Regions from separate parts of the Homo sapiens genome. Here all the other regions are linked to region 1. The links are contacts of gene promoters, found by promoter capture Hi-C in human tissues and cell types (Jung and others, 2019). All regions are on one chromosome and are shown on one strand. The core of a region is centred on a gene start or on the middle of the fragment in contact, and the rest is flanking DNA. Distances in the headings are between cores, read along the strand shown.

Region 1 (4,468 bases), core at 199-2,698:
TGGAATTATTCTGTAAATAGTTCAGGCTTTTGTCTAAATATGTGAAGACTGACAAGACTATCTCCGTGAGAATCCGCACCCCCCCACCCCAACCTCCCCCCTCCTTAATCATGTTTCACAAAGTAAATCTATAGACGTTCCTCCTGGGTTTTGGGAGATTCCCCATCCTAAACAAACCAGCTGGAGGAAAGGAAAGGAAGGAAGAAATAAACGCAACACAGAAGTTCTCCTCAGTTGACAAAAGGTCAAAAATCATTAACGTGTAAATGTTGCTTTTTCCATCCCAAAGCACCTTCTCACGTAGAGTCCAGGGACTAGGAGGACTCACAACGCAGCGATGGGCAGCCAGGCCCTGCAGGAGTGGGGACAGAGGGAACCCGGCCGGTGGCCCGACCCTGCAGGGAAGAAGGACGTGCGGCGAGAAGCATCGGATTCGGGGAGGGCCGGGACCTGGCCGAGGGTGACATTACCGAGCACTTCCTGGCACAGCGCTGGTCCCCTCCCCAAACGCGCTATATGTGGTTCTGTACGGGACTGCCTTTCCCAAAGACAGCCAAGGAAAAACTAAAGATCGACGGGGACACCCGCCTCCCTTCCTCGCCCCAACGGTTTCTCAGAGGCTGTGGGGACTTGGTGAGGGTAGGGGGTAGTTGTCCCAAATCAGCAGCTTCAGGATGTAAGGTATTACAGAAAACTTTGAAGTTTTGTTATCTGTAGCACAGGGACAGGGGTGGGACAATAGAGAAGGAATGTTTTCTTTTCAAAAGAAAACACAAACAAAACTTTATTTTTCTGGTCCGCGGCAGCCTGTCTGCTGAACGTTGACTTGCTTTCGCTTTGCAGCAGGCGACGGTCCCGGGCGCCACCTGCGCGTCGGTGGGAGGCTGGTCCACGCCCGGGTCCCCCGACGCCCACTGCAAAGGGCAGTGGGAATGACAGACTGTAAACCCTCTCGCCTGCGTCCCCTTCAAGCACCAGAAACCCAAGTTGGAACTAATTCTTTCTTTCGGAAGGTGCAACTCCCCTCCCGCGAGCTCCGCGGTGCCGGGCCGAGATTGCCGAGAGGAAGCGGCGCAGCGCTGCCGCCAAGGCTCCTCCTGTCGCCGGTGCGGCCGGGACTACCTGGCGGCGCGGCGCGTGCAGCGCGCAGAGTCCCGGGAGCCCACGCCTCCGCCTCCGCCCCCGCCCCCTCCGCCTCCCAGTCCACCTCGCCCGCCCGCCCTCTCGCCCGGCGGAGAGCACAGCCCACTCCCTCCCACCTGCGGCCGCCGGGCCGCCCTCCACCCACACCTCTGCCGCAGGCCGGACCCAGTGCGCCCGCCCGTCGGTCAGTCCAGGCCAGGCGCCCGGCGGGCCGCGCTCACGCAGTTGGCGCAGGAGGCCTTACGCTGGCGGCGCAGTGCCCGCCCCCTGCGCTCTCCCCGCCCCCTCCCTCCCTCGCAGGGGCCGAGCGAATGTAGCCCGCGAGAGAAAATGGCGGCGGCGGCGGGGAATCGCGCCTCGTCGTCGGGATTCCCGGGCGCCAGGGCTACGAGCCCTGAGGCAGGCGGCGGCGGAGGAGCCCTCAAGGCGAGCAGCGCGCCCGCGGCTGCCGCGGGACTGCTGCGGGAGGCGGGCAGCGGGGGCCGCGAGCGGGCGGACTGGCGGCGGCGGCAGCTGCGCAAAGTGCGGAGTGTGGAGCTGGACCAGCTGCCTGAGCAGCCGCTCTTCCTTGCCGCCTCACCGCCGGCCTCCTCGACTTCCCCGTCGCCGGAGCCCGCGGACGCAGCGGGGAGTGGGACCGGCTTCCAGCCTGTGGCGGTGCCGCCGCCCCACGGAGCCGCGAGCCGCGGCGGCGCCCACCTTACCGAGTCGGTGGCGGCGCCGGACAGCGGCGCCTCGAGTCCCGCAGCGGCCGAGCCCGGGGAGAAGCGGGCGCCCGCCGCCGAGCCGTCTCCTGCAGCGGCCCCCGCCGGGTGAGCAGCACGGCCGGGGTCGCGGCGGGGACTTGGAGAGCGGGCAGAGGGCAATGAATGAACCCCGGGCACCATGCACGGCGTCCCGGGGTTCAGCGCAGCGAGGCTACGCGCCGCTCGCCGGGACCTACGCCCCTGAGCACCCCCCGACCCCTTCGGAGTCGGGCGGCGCCCCGGACCCAGCCTGGGGGACCGGACGGGGACGTGCGGAAGAGTTTGTTATTGTTTGCAGACATGTGACAGGCGTGCGAGCCTCTCTGCGGGGAACCGTTGCGAAAAGGTGTAGGGGGCCACGGCTGGCTTTGTGGGACTCCTGGAATCGGGGCTCTCCGAGGAGCCCGGGGGCGGGGCACGGCCCTGCGGCGGCGCCCCCGGACGGGTGTCCCCGGGGCAAAGGCACTGGGGGGCGAGGCCCGAGCCTGAGGCGGGCGGTGGTCGGAAGAGGGGCGGGGTGGGTGAGAAGCCCGAGGTCGGGTGGGAGACTGAGAGGACCGAAGAGAAAGTAGCAGGTCCCAGCGGCCGTGACAGGCAGAGCCCCTCGGCCCGCCCGGGACTCGAGTCCCTAGGCAGATACCGCGGGCTGGGCCCGGACGCAGGCGGCGCGCCCCCAGCGCCGGCCGCAGGGCTCCAGGAGGACGGCTCGGTAACGCCTGTCAAAGCCGTGCGGCGGGAGGCTGCACACTCGCGGAGGCTTGCAGTCTTTTAGGAAGTGCGGTTTGTCTAATTGCAGCCCCCAAGGGGCTTTGAGTGTTCCTGGGAATGCGAACTGCACTGCTAAGTCACTTGAGTGACTTCTGTTTGGAGTTTGAATTTGGCCTTTGAAGTTTGCATTTGGCGGAGTGGTGTAAGAGCCAGGACCGGATGTGTCAGCCATTCAGTTTCAAAGCAGTGGTGACTGCTCCCCGCAGCCCCTCCGGCTTGGCCCGGGGACTGCGGCGCGGGTGCAGTGCTTCCTGCTCGGTGCCCTGGCGCGGGCCGCCCGCTGAATTCCAGGGGCCGCAGTGCGGTGGGCTTCGGCTCAGATGCGTCTTCTGGTGCATATGAAGTACAGTATGTGTAAGGTAATTTAGACCAGCGGTTTATTGGCCTCGCCCATTTTTGGCTACTGGAAATTTTTATGTTAAAGGAAATTCTTTTAAGTGTGACAGCTACATCCTTGTTTGTTTGTTTTTTAAAAACCTGATTAACGTATGCAAAGTACAAAGTCTTGATGGGTATTTTGAGTTGCTGGAAATGTTTTTGTGATAGTCCCTCGTGGCCCTGTAGAATTCCCTGACCTTTATTATGAGAAGAAAGCGTGTCATTTTGTGAGACGAATTTGACAGTAGGAGTCCTTGGTTTGGATTCATTATCTAAAGTGATCTGGCATTTTTTGTGCATTTGATTATTTGCTTAAAATCACGATCCATTTAGTATTTGGAAGTCCCCTTCCTCTCCCCAAGAACTAAAAAATATGCTTCGCACTGTACCATGGCACTACTGAGACCAAAGGAGATTTGTGACTGATACAGTTTTGTGTGCACTTGTACATGTAATTTATTCTTACAAGAGTTATGTACCTCTATAGTTTTCCCATTTCTGTGCAGATTGTATTAAAACTTAACTGGAATAATTCTTTGAAGGCAACTTCTACTTTAAATGAATTCCAGATAAAAATTTTTAACCCCAAATTTAAGAAATTGTATCTATTGAGACCTAACTTTTTGGATACAATAAATAATTTAGCAAACGTCAGCATTCTAGTACTCTTAATGAGCTGTGAATATAGTAGAAGAGCATCCACTGTAAAAATAATGTACTGAAATTGTTTAATGTTGTCTCTTGACACAAAATAAGAGGACTAAGGTGGAGGCAGATAGAATTTAGGGACTAAGTAATCCATGCTTAGTATTTGCGTTTTGTAACCGAGGTTTTTTCCCCTTTGCTTAAGGTGTAGATTATAATTGCACAGTATAAGAAAATAATGGGCTTGTAAGGATAATCTTTTTTAAAGAAATTATTTTTACGAGTCAGAATGCTGTTGGTTTATCCCAAATGTCATACGTAAAGATTTCATTTATAGTAAAATGTTGATTCCCTAACCTTATGAAATATAGTGAATTTTTTTTTCTTAACAATTGGGTTGAAATTCATTTGAATCTGTTCGTATAAAACTTTGTGGGGAAAGGGCTTGTATCTTATTTGAGTGTGTATATTTTGTATTGCATGTTGGTTATGCTACACTATTACTTACCATTTAAAGTTTTAGGAAAAAAAACCCTTAATTATAGCCAACTCAATAAAATATCAATTGAACTTTATGTTTTACTTTTTTTTGACAGTTAAGTTACATTCATACTTCCAAGAGGAAAATCTAAGATTTTGAAATATTTGAGAGTTCTGTGATCTTTTTTTTAATTTTAGAATTTCCTTCTGATCTTTGAATGTAGAAAATATACTTTGAATTAGAATTTATATAAATAAATAATACTCGTATTTAAATAGAAGATTTTAAGTTTGTCCCTCTTTTTCAG
Region 2 (4,610 bases), core at 851-3,350, 710 kb before region 1:
TGTATATCTTTTCCACTTGTCATGAGGATTAAACTGGAGAACAAGGGTAAAGCATTTAGCTTATAGGGTAAAGTACTCAAAAGACCTTAACAAAAAAAGATTATTTGATCTTTTGCCTATCAGTCTAGTAAGAAAGAACCAGAATTGCTATAGCAATGCTCCTAGACTTTAAGGGTCTTCTGTTGGAGCAAAATAGCATAAGAAAAAAAGAAAAAACAAAAGGATTAGCCAAGAACAACTTGCATCTGTTTAAGTGAATCTCATGGTGGATGGTCTGTGCAGAAGCGGCCACCTCAGCAATGTTAGTTGATGGAGATTAAATCTCCAGTCTCCCTGGTGGATATTTTGCCATTATATTTTATCCTTTTGAACACTGAACATCAAATAACTTCAGGAGCCATTATTTACAGAGAAAATATTCCTGTGTAGAATTAACATGAAAATTTATATTAGCGAACAACTATTTATCCATGAACACTTGAGCAGAAATTTGTAAAACCAACGAGATAATAATTTTGAGTTATGTTTATGGAACACTTACTTTTGTCAGGAATAGGGATAAATGCTGTAGGCATAATCTTATTTAACTCTGACAATCACTTTTTCTTGTGAGATACATTCTATTATCATCCTCATTTTACAAATGAGGACCTTGTGACTTGGAGGAGTTCTAAAAGTGCTCAAGTCACACGCTAGGAAGGGACACAGCCTAGACTTCAACCCTATAGGGCTGACCCTGTAACTTCTATTATTCTGCCTCCTCTAAGCAGATGGGAGCAGTGGGCAAAGAAGGGCTACAGCAGTGACTCGGAGATGAAGGGGAGTTAAACTTTATTCCATGTTGGCATTTTGCTCAGTTTTCAGGGACAGGGTGGAGCCGTGCATAGCCCAAAGCTGTCTGGTGCTGCAGGCAACTCCAGGGAGTGTTCAGCTTTGGGGACAGGGTCAAGGACCACTGTCCTAGAAAAAAAGGATAGGAAATGTTTTCACAGTTACATGATGGAACCCGAGGTGACTGCAGGATTAATAATAATAATAATGATAATAACAATAATAAATAGATAATTCAGCAATCATCCATTGAGCACTCATCATATTCCAGACCCTAGAGTACAAAGAGGAGAAAGCAAGGCGTTCAGGAGGGGATTGCAATTGATGTGGGAGGAAAGACAGGTAAACATATGGTTTTGAAGCTCCATGAGTAGTGCTGTGATAGAGTTTGTGAGGGCATTGCAGAGGAAGGAATGGTCCAGAGAAGTTGAGGTTTTCTGGGATCCCATAGACCTTGTTCCAGTATCTCCTCTGCCACTTCCTAGCTAGCTCTGTGACCTTAGGCAGATGAGCTAACCTCTCTGTCTCAATTTCTTCAGTTATAAAGAGGATAAAATCTCTCCTGCAATGTTGTGGAAAGTGAAGTGTGTAGGTGTGTAGGTCAGCAAGGTGGAGCTATTCTTTTTTTTTTTTTTTTTTGGAGACAGTGTCTCACTCTGTTTCTCAGGATGGAATGCAGTAGTGCCATCGTGGCTCACGGCAACCTCTGCCTCCCGGGTTCCAGCAATTCTCCTGCCTCAGCCTCCTGAGTAGCTGGAACTACAGGCGTGCGCCACCACACCAGGCTAATTTTTGTATTTTTAGTAGAGATGGGGTTTCACCATGTTGGCCAGGCTGATCTTGAACTCCTGACCTCAGGTGATCCACCCGTCTCAGCCTCCCAAAGTGTTGGGATTACAGGCGTGAGCCACCGTGCCCGGCCAGGTGGAGCTGTTCTTATTAGCAGTCCTAAGAAAGAGCCATATTTCCTACAGAGATCAGGGTGACCTTCACATATTATAGAAGGTGAGTTTTGAGCTGGTTCTTAAAAGATTGTAGGAATCGGTCAAGCACACAGTGGAGAGAACCCAAAATAATAACAAGGGCCAAGATGTCATAGAATGGAAAGGTATGAAATTGTCAAGAAACTGAGACATATTCAAGGAACTTCTGAAGAGGTAGGGGTGGGGATTTGAGATGGGCGGTGCAGAAGCTGAGCATGACCATGCCGTGAGGTCTGACCATGCCGTGAGGGCTTTGTTTGCCCAGTTTAGAACCCTGGCCTTTGTCCTGAAAAGATGCAAAACGTTTGATGGGTTTAGACAGAAGGATCACAGGATCAGACCTAACCAGCCAGAAGAGTGCATTGTTGGCTGAGATAGTCTAGAAAATTCTAGAGAAGGAAGCTCTCTTTTGCAGGAGAAAGGAAATGCACACTTTTTTACTTTTCTTGTGACGGCTTATAAATAACCAGGCTAGCAGACAATACCACAGAGCTTTCTGTTCCATTTTCTCTGAAAGCTGCCTGCAATGAATTAAGCTGACGTGCTCCAAATTCCAAGTCTCTAGGATAAGTGCTTCATCCCCCATCTTGCTGCATCCAACCTCTGACAGGTCTCAATAAATGTTAAGCAATAATCATTACAGCTAAATGTTCAGGGCTGCTGATGTAAGCATTGGATAGTGGCTGCCTGGAATTTTAACAGCAGCACTACTAACTCATATTATTTCTACCAAACCCAGGGCAGGAAAGGAGGAAATCCAAAGATAAAGGGACAATCCAAGTTCAAGTCAGTGCTATAGTGGGATGATTTATCCAACTGCTTTACCACATTAAACTTTCACATAAAGTTTCAACTCTCCTAGACTAACAACAACGACAACACCCACTTCAGTGTAGTGCAGAAGCCTCAGTGATCTCAAAACAATTATTGTTAAAAATGATCACAAAAATAAAATCCGTAAGGCTAGGAAAGCTTTTTTTTTTTTTTTTTTTTTTTGAGACATAGTCTTGCTCTGTCGCCCAGGCTGGAGTGCAGGTGCGATCTCGGCTCACTGCAACCTCTGCCTCCTGAGTTCAAGCGATTCTCCCACCTCAGCCTCCACAGTAGCTGGGACTACAGGCGCCCGCCACCACACCTGGCTAATTTTTGTATTTTTGTATTTTTAGTAGAGATGGGGTTTCACTATGTTGGCCAGGCTGGTCTCGAACTCCTGACCTCAGGTGATCCGCCTACCTTGGCCTCCCAAAGTGCTGGGATTACAGGCATGAGCCACCACACCCAGCCTTAGTGGCTCATATCTATAATGCCAGCATTTTGGGAGGCCAAGATGGGAGGATTGCTTGAGGCCAGGGGTTCTAGACTAGTCTGGGTAACAAAGTGAGACCCTTGTCTCTACAAAAAAATGATGACAAAAAAATTAGCCAGAGGAGGAGATGTGTCTGTAGTTCCAGTTACATGGGAGGTTGAGATGGGAGGATTGCTTAAGCCCAGGAGTTTGAGGCTGAAGTGAGCTATGATCAAGCCACAGTACTCCAGCCTGGGTGACAGATCCTATCTCTCTCTAAAAAAAAAAAAAAAAAAAAATCCCTCACTCTCTTTTGATAAATCAACTGTGATAAACACTCAGCAATCATTTAATGTTTGATCAAATGACTAAGCTCCTTTCCATTTTTGAAACCCTATGACTGTATCTAAACATGAGAAGAAAGTCAATTTAAAGTCAGTTGCAGAAGCATTTTAGTAAATCTATACCCCTTAAAGCTGATTTATAGGCTGAAAACACTTGGGAAATTTATCTTATCATGACTCAGTTGCCTAGAATGGCTCCTAGTTATAATCAGCACTCAGAAAAATTGGTTGAAAAAAATATTTGATATAGGCAGATTCCATTGGAGAAATTCACCTTCCCCTTTCTGCTATTCTGCTGTCCCAGGATTTTTCTAGTTATTTCATTGTGTAAGTGAGCAAATCCCCAAACCACGTTTATTGAATTTCTTTTTATTTCAAATAAGATGGAAATTTTTGGGTGGCACATGTGTCAGAATGTACTAACTCTCCATCTAATATCTCCTCCCTCACTTAGAAACAGAAATCCAATTTTGGAGGGATAGCAACGTGGCCAGCTAAAAGACTCCTTGTTGATAGCTGTGAATATATGACCAAAGTTTAGAGGCCAATGAGATGCAAGCGGAAGTGTGGCACTTAAGCCAGATGAGTTCTTAATGGGAGCTGATTCACATGGGGACACGCATTTTTCCCCCTCTCTACTTCCTTCCTCCTGCTCCATCAGCCCCTCGAGGAGAGAAGCCATACATTAGGTGACGGGGCACATAGATGGAAAGAGCCTATGTTGCTTATGATTGTGGAGCCACCAAATGTCTGGGAACTGCCTACTTCAGACTTCTTTCATGTGATAGCAATAAACTTTTTTTTTTTTTTTGAGACAGGGCCTCACTTTGTCACCAAGTCTGGGGTGCAGTGGTGCGATCTTGGCTCACTGCAACCTCTGCCTCCCAGGCTCAAGTGATCCTCCCGTCTCAGCCCCCCAAGTAGCTGAGACCACAGGCAAGTACCACTACTCCTGGCTAATTTTTTTTGTATTTTTTGTAGAGACGAAGCTTAACCACGTTGCCCAGGCTGGTCTTGAACTCCTGAGCTCAAGCAATCCACCTCCCTTGGCCTCTCAAAGTGCTGGGATTACAAGCCTGAGCCACTGCACCTGGCCGTGATAGCAATAAACTTCTATGTTGTTCAAGCCCCTGTGACTTTGGGTTTCTTTTACAGGAAGCTGAACCC
Region 3 (4,586 bases), core at 1,260-3,759, 760 kb before region 1:
TTACTTTTTTCCTTCTTGTATATTCCTTCATGGGGGAGGAACTTTTGCTGGGAACCTGTGAAATGATGAGCTTTTTGTGCACTTTCTAGTTGGATGCATTTTTGAGATGTGGGGCAACAGAAGCAGGAGGCTGCAAGAGAGCAGCAACATCTGAAAAGTCTGCTGAGCCATCTGGCTTCAGGAGAATTTACTTAGTTTGCTTCCTGGAAGTTGTGATAAAATTTATAAATAATTTATAACACAAGGACTTCAAGAGAGGCATATTGGAAAACTCAGTGCTATCTCAAACTGTCTGGAGCAAATTATAAGCCTCAGCTATCTCCCCCACTACAAAAAAAAATGCAAGTTTTGAGTGGAAAGGAAACACTTGTAGCTCCATTTCCTCTCAGGCACAAGCAGCTCTAAAAAAAGAAGCAATGTGAACAGAGTGTCTCAGAAAGAGTTGCAGCTATTGTTTGCAAAGTAAGGAGGAAGCAAAGCAATAATATTAACAGAAATAGTTTGAAAATAGAGCAAGCAAGGAGAATTGCAAAGTAGAAAGTATACCTAAGGGGGTAGAAACATCAGATAGGATCTACCTCAAGGCATGGAGAGATCTTTGTTTGTTTCCTTTGTTCCACAGTTGAAATTATCTTTATCTTCCAATCTAAACATTGCCTACTTTTTGTTTCTTTTCTTCTTATTTTATGTGGGAGTTTCTATTTGAATTTTAGTCATGTTGTTTTGAGTGGATGATCAGCCACAGCAGGATATGCTTTTTTTTTTTTAAGTGAGATTAAACACGAGTTAGATGGTAATCAGTGAGGCTGGTTATATACATAAATATCTGCACATTATTTTAATGTTTTCCATAGTTGTAAATTTTCACAAAGAGATCCATGATTCTATGAGGAGTCTATTATAAAATATGCTATCTACTCACTTTGAATCTTGTCTAAGTTAACCTCTTTTCTTTTCTATAAAATAGGTATTGAACTTTATGAAAAGAACCAAAATGATCTTCACTGGAGTTGGTTAGGATCATTAGCTTTATCACATAAAAGCTTCTGGATTTTTTTGTTTATTTGTTTTTTATTTGGGGTTTATCTTTGTCTGTTTTCTGTTGCTTATACCAGAATACATGAAGCTGGGTAGTTGATTTAAAAAAAGGAATTTATTTTTTACAATTATAAGAAATGAACTTATTTCTTTTTTTTTTTTTGAGACGGAGTCTCGCTCTGTCGCCCAGGCTGGAGTGCAGTGGCGGGATCTCGGCTCACTGCAAGCTCCGCCTCCCGGGTTCACGCCATTCTCCTGCCTCAGCCTCCCAAGTAGCTGGGACTACAGGCGCCCACCACTACGCCCGGCTAATTTTTTGTATTTTTAGTAGAGACGGGGTTTCACCGTTTTAGCCGGGATGGTCTCGATCTCCTGACCTCGTGATCCGCCCGCCTCGGCCTCCCAAAGTGCTGGGATTACAGGCGTGAGCCACCGCGCCCGGCCATGAACTTATTTCTTATAAGGCTGGCAAGAAGGTCAAGCCTGAGGCTGACAAGTCCAAAGTCAAGAGGCTGAATCTGGTGAGGGCCTTCTTGCTGATGGGGACTCTCTGCAGAGTCCTGAGGTGGTACAGGGGCTGAGCATGCTAGCTCATCTTCTTCCTCTTCTTGTAAAGCCACCAGTCCCCTCTCATGAAAACTTGTTGATCCATTAGTCCATTAATCCATTAATCCCTCTTGACCCAAGCACCTCTTAAAGGCCTCAGCTCTCAATACTGTCACATTGGGGATTAAATTACAACACGAGGCCAGGTGTGGTGGCTCACACCTGTAATCCCAGCACTTTGGGAGGCCAAGTCGGGTGGATCATGAGGTCAGGAGATTGAGACCATCCTGGCTAACCTGGTGAAACCCCATCTCTACTAAAAATACAAAAAATTAGCTGGGCGTGGTGGCACACACCTGTAGTCCCAGCTATTTGGGAGGCTGAGGCATGATAATCGCTTGAACCCGGGAGGCAGAGGTTGTGGTGAGCTGAGATTGCATGATTGCACTCCAGCCTGGGCAATAAGAGTGAAACTCCGTCTCAAAAAAAAAAAAAAAAAAAAAAAAAAATTACAACACAAGCTTTGGAGAGGATAGATATTCAAACTATAGCAGGACTGATCTTAAAAATCAGTTGCTAAACATTATGTTTTGTTAAACATGTTTCAGTTGTTCAACATGTTTTGTGCTAAATTCATAGATTGTATTTTGATCACATCAGTGGGAATGACTTTCATATCAATGGATCAAGATTAATTTGATGAGATAAAGTATAACTCATTTTAAAGAAAATTCTAAAGTCACTACATATGGTGTGGTGATTTCAGCTTGGCAAACACTAGAACAAAACCATTATGTAGCCAATGCCCTGTGGTCTGTCATATACTCAAATACATACCATATGTGTTGTGTCAGCATGCCAGATTACTTTTGTACCTCTACTCTGTGGAAAATATTCAAATGCTATGATAATGACCAGATAAATAGTAATGATAAGTCAATGAGTCCCGAGTGTCCAAAGTGTAACTTGAATGGATTAAAGAATAACTAGGTTGTCTAACATCATCCTGATATGGACAGGAGGCAGGGAAATACTAGGTAGAAAAGGATGGGGTCCCTGGAAAGGGCTCTACTCTCAAGCCTGGACCCACAGCCCTAAATGAGAGCATGCATTCCTGTTTTCTTGCCCAAACGTTGCCTTTTCAAAACCACCCTGGCCCACCACACCCCCCAATCCTGTACCCATAAAAACCCCAAGGGTCACTGGCAGAGGAGCAGAGCAGAGTGGCAGAGAAGGAGAGAAGAGAAGAAGCAGCTGGACATCGGAGAAAAGCAGTTTGACTTCAGAGGGATGGTTTGATGGGTGGGACTTTGGGGAAGAATTTGGCTGAGGATGGCCGAACTCCAGGGGAAGATTATCTTCCCACTCCATCCCCCTTCCAGCTCCCTTTCTCACTGAGAGCCACTTCCACCACTCAATAAAATCCTCCTTGTACACTACCCTTCAATCTGTTTATGTGACCTGATTCTTCCTGGATGCCAGACAAGAACTTAGGTACTAAGAGGGCAGGGTATAAAAGGCTGTCACCTTGACCCTCCACTAAGCTGGTTAATGCTTAAGCTGTTCACAGATGGCAAAGCTAAAGGAACACACTGTAACACACACCCTCTGGGGCTCCAGGGGTCACGGGCAATCCCTAGATGCTGCCACGGGCTGGTAGGGGTTTCCTTCCCACCAGCGCCCAAAGACACTCACTGTGGCTCCTGCACCCACCTACCTGTGTGGTCTGCCTCCAGCAAGGAGTTTGAGTGCTGCAGGCTGAGTAAGTGAGCCACCCCTTTGCAAGTCCCGTGAAAAGGTCAAAGGAATGATCCCATCTCAGTCCTATGAACTAGTTCCCCAAATAGGCTGCTCATCAGAAACCAACAGAGAGGTCTAAAACTTTGTAAAATTTAAATCTAGTAAAATTCACACTTTTGGGGGCTCTATGAGTTTTGACATATGCTTGTCACTACCACCACAATCAAGTGACACAACTTGGGGTAGAACAGTCCATCACCCCTCCAGAAATGCCCTGTGCTCAAATACCCCTTTGTGCTCAAAACCCAGCCTCAGCCTTTCAATCCTGGAAACCACTAATCTGTTCTCCTTCACTATGGTTTTGCATTTTCCAGCATGTCATATAAATGGAATACAGTATGGAAAATGGGTTGTATCCCTGCGTATAATACACTGGAGAGTCATCCTTGCTGTTGCATGTGTGTTCTTTTTAATTGCTGAGTACTATTCCATTGTACAGATGTATCACTGTTTCTCTGTGTGTTACTCAACTGAGAGACATTTGGGTTTTTACCAGGTTTGGGTGATTATGAATAAAAATATTATAACTATTCATGTATATAGTTCATTGTAGGAACATGTTTCCACTTATCTTAGGTAAATACCTAAAAGTGAGATACCTGAGAAGTTTTGAAAAATATTCCCCTTCCCATGGATTTGCAATTTCTTCAGTATGGGGCCTTGGAATATATACTTTAAAAATGCTCCTCTAGTGTAATTTCTTTGTTTTTTGGAGACCAGAGTCTTGCTCTGTTGCCCAGGCTGGAGTGTAGTGGTGCAATCTCGGCTCACTGCAACCTCTGTCCCCCTGGTTCAAGTGATTCTTATGCCTCAGCCTCCCGAGTAGCTGGGATTACAGGTGTACACCACTGCACCCAGATAATTTTTGTATTTTTAGTAGAGATGGGGTTTCGCCATGTTGGCCAGGCTGGTCTTGAACTCCTGGCCTCAAGGGATTTGCCTGCCTCAGCCTCCCAAAATGCTGAGATTACAGGCATGAGCCATAGCCCAAGTGTGATTTTTTAATGGGTAAGGAATGTCCTTGCGAGTGGTGAAACTTCTTGGAAATAGTTAGAGGTAATGATTGCACAACATTGTGTATGTACTAAATGCCACTGAATTGTATGCTTTAAAATGGTTAATGGTTAATTTTATGTCATATACATTTTATCTCAATTTTTAAAAAACCTAAAAAAATGTGCTCCCAGGTCATTCTGATATTT

The links. Contacts are between HindIII fragments. The study calls those that stand out against the background at their distance.
Region 2: a fragment that was not itself captured here is called in contact with the fragment with the promoter of MAP3K1 in region 1 in 1 of the 25 tissues and cell types used here (dorsolateral prefrontal cortex).
Region 3: a fragment that was not itself captured here is called in contact with the fragment with the promoter of MAP3K1 in region 1 in 1 of the 25 tissues and cell types used here (heart left ventricle).

What each region holds. Positions count from the first base shown.
Region 1 is chr5:56,814,101-56,818,568 of GRCh38, forward strand. It overlaps MAP3K1 (mitogen-activated protein kinase kinase kinase 1), which reads left to right and starts at 1,449. Exons shown (of 20, transcript NM_005921.2): 1 at 1,449-1,955. The coding sequence starts at 1,474. RefSeq lists enhancers at 677-806, 2,258-3,081 and silencers at 1,167-1,936, 2,007-2,126, 2,307-2,546. The HindIII fragment of the contact is 12,718 bases long and covers 1-4,468 here.
Region 2 is chr5:56,103,634-56,108,243 of GRCh38, forward strand. The region is part of intron 10 of ANKRD55 (ankyrin repeat domain 55); the gene reads right to left. Among named protein-coding and RNA genes, the nearest start is that of IL6ST-DT, 110 kb to the left of the region's middle. The HindIII fragment of the contact is 3,018 bases long and covers 592-3,609 here.
Region 3 is chr5:56,050,447-56,055,032 of GRCh38, forward strand. No RefSeq gene overlaps it. Among named protein-coding and RNA genes, the nearest start is that of IL6ST-DT, 58 kb to the left of the region's middle. The HindIII fragment of the contact is 6,560 bases long and covers 1-4,586 here.